Regions from separate parts of the Homo sapiens genome. Here region 2 is linked to region 1. Evidence: promoter capture Hi-C in 16 types of primary human blood cells and fetal thymus (Javierre and others, 2016). All regions are on one chromosome and are shown on one strand. Each heading gives the region's core, a stretch centred on a gene start or on the middle of the fragment in contact. The rest is flanking DNA. Distances are from core to core; before and after follow the strand shown.

Region 1 (2,907 bases), core at 15-2,514:
AACTTAATTGCTCAATTTCTTTCCTCTTCTTTTTGCTATAAGCCAACATAGTGCTTTTATAATGCAAACTCACATACACAGCAACAAGAAGTAAAACAAGGGTCACTGAGTTGATCCCATCACCTGACTTCAGCAGGGGAGAAAAGGATACATCATGATCTCTAATTTTCACAAGTGGCTTGCCATCTTCTTTCCCTTCCACCTCCCCCGTCTATCAATCATGAACATAGTGTGCATGTGTGTGCTTACACCCCTTTCACCTTCGGGTTTAATTTTTTGGAGGGATCAGACTTGCATCACGCCCGCACTGGTGGGGGTAGGAAGCGCAGCTAGGCGGGCACGGCTGTTGCCGGCAGGGCCAAAGTCCCCTACCTCCTCCTCGGCGTGTTTGTTCCCTGGACCAAAGCCTCCTAACTACTTTTCTTCACTCCCTAGATCCACCACTCGCCTCCCACACAGGGTGGAGCGCCCCGAAGTACTTGCATAAGACAGCACAATCCCAATTTATAGGTTGTAGGAGCGCCAGTGCTGTCGGTTTTTTTCCCCAAGATATTTATGGGGGTCATTAATTATTTAACAAATCTAATAAAATTGAAGGGCTCCTTCTCCCAGAAAAAGATCGTACACACCAAAAATTCTGCATAGCATCTCAAGGTGTTTATAGACTCCCTGAACCTTCAAATTAAGTCCGCACCAGTGAGGGGCGCGGACCGGCGGAGTAGAAAAAGAAAGGGGTGAAATCTTGAAGTGAGTTAGTTAACATTGATAGATATGTACAATATTTAATATACATAGGTACCTATATGACAAAGCTGAGTAATAGGTTATGGAAAAGAGTGCTTTCCACAAGCAAGTCGGTCATACCGAAGACGGCGAGCAACAGGTGGGCAGAACACGGGGTCCCGCACTCCCAGCACGCGGGGTGAGGGCGGGATAGGAGGAGGTGACCGGGTGTGGGGCAGGGGGCGGCGCCGGGGAGCGGCGGGCTCCACTCACCGTTGCCCACGGAGCTGCGGCCCTTCCGGGCGAGGGTCTGCTGCACCTGCTCCTGGATCCGCAGGCTCTTGACTGTCTGGCCGCCGCGGCCGCTGCTCCCCGCCAGCTTCAGCTTGGCCTCGGAGGGCAGCGCCAGGCTGGAGCTGTCCAGTTGTCCCAGGATCTGCTGGCCCAGGACGGTCCGGATGTAGCCGTACTCAGCTGGGGCGCCGGGGGCTGCCATGGGGCCGGTGGGGGCGACCGAGCTGCTCGCCTGCCTCTGGACTCGCGGGCGAAGCCGCCACGGAGCTGGGGGCGCTGGCGCGAGCCCCGCCCCGCTCGAGTCCGGCCCCGCCCCTGGCCCGCCCCCCGCGCCGGTGAGAGGCCCGGGCCGGGGGGGAGCTCGGCCTCGTGGGCCGGACGCCCGGCCTTCCCTGAGGAGGGGGCGCGGCTCCGGCCGGGCACGCGCAGTCGGGCCCGGGGGCGGGGGCGGGGGCGGGCCGGACCCGCTGAGCGCGCGGACACCTGGAGACTTGTACCCGCCCGCGGGGAGGTGGGGAGAGGGGCGCGGTTCGCCTGGGGTCGCGCACGTTGTCGGAGTCCCAGCGGATACCGCCTGCCGGGGCCGCGCCCCGCTCTGCCCACGCCCCGCGCTGGACAGGATGGATTTCCGCTCGATGCAGGGAGGGGCTGCCCTGCAGGCAGGTGAGCCCTCGAGAGTCACTCCTGTTCTTGGACTGAGGCTTGCCTCCGGGATCCCCGAGCGAGTAGTATGTCTGGTTAGTCAGGCTTTGTCGCACTGTTGGAAACGTTTCCTGGTTTTCCTGGACCTGAGGGTGAGAAAGGGCTATTTGGTCAGGCGGAAAGGGCAATATGAGGGAAATGTGCCAAGAAGATAACGTGTGAAATAAAAGACTTTCTAAAGAGAGTGTTTTTTTTCTTAGTACAACGTCAGGACTATGTACTTTTTGCACAGATGCAGTCCCAGAAACATATGTTCTTCCTCATTGAGAGCTTCTGTTTTCTCTTGGATACACAAATTGTACCCAGTACTCTTGCTAACCCATTCCTCTCTTACGAACACACCCACACAGAGAAACTCCAACAAGAGGCTCTAGAGAAGAAATGAATTTTAATAGACGATGCTTTTTAAATAGCCCTGCTAACGTTGATTAAGTCCTCTTTATTACAGGCTCTTTGTAGAGAGATCCACGGAGAGGGCCTCCAACTTTCAATCGAATCTTCCACAACTTGTATTTATCGTGCTATTAATTATGTTTCACCGCAGTTGACTACTGAGAACTTGAGAGCTAAGCTCAACAGAAAGGATCCTTGACCTTAAAGTTTACAACCAAAGCCACTTGTCCTGATTTGCCTCTTTGGACTTAAGAGGCAGAAAGAAAAACATGTATCCCTGGTATTAAGATAATATTCCCTTTGATTGCTTGGGTTTGTATGTTCACTTTCCCTCAAATCACTCAATTGCTGCAAAACCCCACTTACTCAAGTCTGAAGTGTTTGGAGAACGCAGCTTCCCTCGTCTTTGTTTTCCTACCCACACCCTTCTGCCTTTAGACACACACTGAATGCTTAGACACACAATGCACAGGTATATGGCCTCCCTTTTTACATGAGCGTCCAGGGAGTGAAGAGGAAACCAAAGGACTGAAAGCGTGGACAACAGAGTAGTGACAGTTCCGCCACCCTTTGTCAGCAGGCCACATGGCTAAGTGGGAGCCATATGGATGTGAGTCCTGGAAGCAATTGCTCCCACCCCAATAGAATGGACCACTATTTAGGCAAATTACACCTTGTGTAAAGCTTGCTTATGTAGCCAGGTGGAAACATCCAACCATGATGCTGAGATGTAATTGAAAAGAGAGGGGTGAACTGAAGGTAAGTGATGATAGAAACGTCCAGCAACATTCCTGT
Region 2 (3,054 bases), core at 114-2,613, 1.1 Mb after region 1:
TTGAATTTACCCTAAAAACTAAATTAATTATATTAAATATATAAGCCAAAACAAAACTGTTAATCTCCCCTTTCTCCAAAATTTGGCCTTACTTCTATCTTCCCCTTAGAAAACAGATCCACCGCTTTTATTAAACCAAAAACCTGAGTTGTCCATGAATCCTTTCATTCACAAAACACCCACATTCATTTTATTAGCAAGTTTCACCAGCTCCACTTCCAAAATGTATCCCAAATCAATTCACTTTACCTTCACTTTACTCTTATTTCTACCACTCTTGTCCAGGCCACCATCTTTTATAACATGGACTACTCAATAGCTCTCCCCACCTCTAAATGCCTTATTCACTCAGGAGCCAAGGTAATCTGGCTAAATATTAATCAGATAACATAACTCTCCTATTTAAAGCTTCCTAGTGTCTTAGAATTAAATCCATACACACTTAAAAAGAATATCATGACCTGGCCTCTGCCTACCTTGTAGGACTTCCCCTTCCACCGTATGCTCCAATCATATTGTTCTTTCTGTTACCTACTATGTAGGGTTTGCCTTAGAGTCTTAGTTTCTAACAGATAGAACAGGTCTACTAACTGTTCTCTGATAAGAAACTTCTTCTATTTAATCTGGGTATAGCTGAAATGTCACCTCTTCCAAGAAGTCTTTTTCTTATTCTAGTCTCAAGTGGCCTCCAAATCACTCTCTATTACCCTATTTTAATTTTCTGTATAGTGCTTATAGTTGTCTAATATTTTTCTTTTTTTATTTTTTCTCTGTATGCATTACGTGAGAATTTTGACCTTGACTATCTTGATTGATGCTTTAACCCCAGAACATAAAACAATGCATGATAGAGTGGTACTCAATAAATATTTATAAAATAAATGAGTTACCAGATGGTAACTCAGATGTCATTCTTTAGAATGACAACATGGGATTCTTGACCTTACAAGATGGTCATCAAAATTCACCCTATAACTTTGTTTCTATAGCTGCTCTTAAGATTCCTGAGATCACTAAAAGAAATAAACAGGACCAATTGCACATATCTTTATTTCTTTTTACTCTTCAGTCAATGCTTTGCAACAAAGACAATGACTATGATATCTGACCCTCAGGAGCTCTGATGAGAATCTACTCTTGTCTAATTCACTAACCTAGTCACAAATGACTTTTGGCAGCACAGGCAAGAGCTCTAAAAGAAAGCAAAAATCCAGAAATTATTCCTAGCACATTTTGAATATTTATGAACTGTTACTCATGGAAGTAACTATTAGTAGCTCAACGCCATGAAAAAGAATTTTCTATACAAAAACACAGGTAACAATCACAATTCCAAAGTGGCATAAAATGCTTTTGCTATCCTGACTTCTTACAACCATATCTACTAGAAGTTTTTGACTAGACTATAATATTATATTAGTAAGTTTGAATTAGTGAGAGAGAAAAACTCATTGCCTTCTAATTCTATCAAATTCTGCACAGTTGCCTAGATTTACTCCTTTAGAGAATTGTAAGGAATCAACAGATTTTTTTTTAACTTTCCCTGGGGATAAAGTATGACAAACTTCATCAATCTAAGAGAAAATAGTCACGATACCCTCTCCAGTAATCACCAACTTCTTCTTGGGGTATGGCAGAACATAAGAAGCACTTTGAGAAGCAGGGAAATATTAACTTTTAATGTATTTGGGCAACAAGATTTAAAGTCATCTGAATTAGCAGGATATATTGTTCGAGGAACAGCTGGTGGCTTTTAATTAGTGCTTAGTTTAGAAGTACAAAGTTGAATGTGCCTTAGTTTTGTTGGTCTTTTTCCAACTGATAAATCATTTCCTGTCTCCAGTGAATTGGTTTAGCTTTGTCTTACTATAGGTATAATTGTGCGTTTTACTCCCAACTGAGCCATGAATCAATAAAAGTTTATAAAAATCTTTGTTTTTAGGCTTAAAATATGATCTTAAAGACTACACTGTAGACCACTCAGCTTTTATTCACTATCCCGCTGACATTTTTAGTAATGAATCCTCAACCATTTTTGGCTTTCCCTTTCTATTCCTTAGTCACAGTCCATGTCTCCCTTAAAGTGTTATTTCTTTTTCTAATTCCCCATTCCTCTCACCCACTGTCACAGTCACAGATCTTTTTCCAGAAAACGTATGAGCTGAGAAACATTCTGTATTTATCACACAGATGCCAAAAGAATAGATAACCCTTGATAAGAAAACACATTAAAGTGTCATGTTCTAGGAAGTTCTTGGATTATAAATCTTAATATATATGTAAGAAAAATAATTTGCCATTAATTATAGTTATTCATTAAAGCTTTCTTAGTCAAACAAGCATCATTAAATTTATAAATGATACTGAGTTAGTTTGGTCAGTTATCCAGTTAGAAATTTGCTCCCCAAAGATGGCTCTTCAGGTTGCAAATACTAATTGGCTTTCAGTGGGTAACAGTGAGTATGCTTAGTTACACATTTAAGGAAAGAAGCCAGGCAGCTGGACTCCCCACTACTTAACAATGGTATTGTGTCTAATCCAAAAGTACTACTTGACAGGAAAATCCTTATTGTCACGATTGCTCATGGTTGATGGTGTTTTTCTAACAAAGTTAGCTATTCACCTGAGGGCATCTTATTTCACACAATGAGCAATGACTCACAGGAACTGGGAAGAAAAAGAAAACTGACGAATTTCCTGAATACCTCTGCTACTGCTATATAATTAGCATTTGGCTATATGTATTATTTTATTTTTAGATGACGTTTTAGGGAACACTATTAAATCATAACTGGTAGCCAAAAGGACGTGGCCCGTAATCATGCTAAGAATAGAAGAGAAGTGTAATGCAAATTCAAAGAGTTGAATAATGTGATTTGAAACCTGGCCCTGACATGTATTAATATTTCATTTTGAAAACTGCATAATCTGAGTTTTAATTTCCTGATTAGTAGATAGTAAGTACGCTTACTTTACTGAGTTCTTAAAATGATAAATGAAATAATAAATAAGGAATATATGGCACTTTGCAGAGTTTGTTTTACATTATATAAA

What was found. The method cuts DNA at HindIII sites, captures the fragments that hold promoters and counts their contacts. A CHiCAGO score of 5 or more calls a contact.
Region 2: a contact is called between a fragment that was not itself captured here and the fragment with the promoter of PKP2 in region 1, in 1 of 17 cell types (endothelial precursors). The highest score is 5.5, in endothelial precursors.

The regions. Positions count from the first base shown.
Region 1 is chr12:32,895,513-32,898,419 of GRCh38, forward strand. It overlaps PKP2 (plakophilin 2), which reads right to left and starts at 1,265. Exons shown (of 13, transcript NM_001005242.3): 1 at 997-1,265. The coding sequence starts at 1,219. RefSeq lists silencers at 1,264-1,373, 1,574-1,673. The HindIII fragment of the contact is 4,432 bases long and covers 1-2,794 here.
Region 2 is chr12:33,986,511-33,989,564 of GRCh38, forward strand. No RefSeq gene overlaps it. Among named protein-coding and RNA genes, the nearest start is that of ALG10, 34 kb to the right of the region's middle. The HindIII fragment of the contact is 1,914 bases long and covers 407-2,320 here.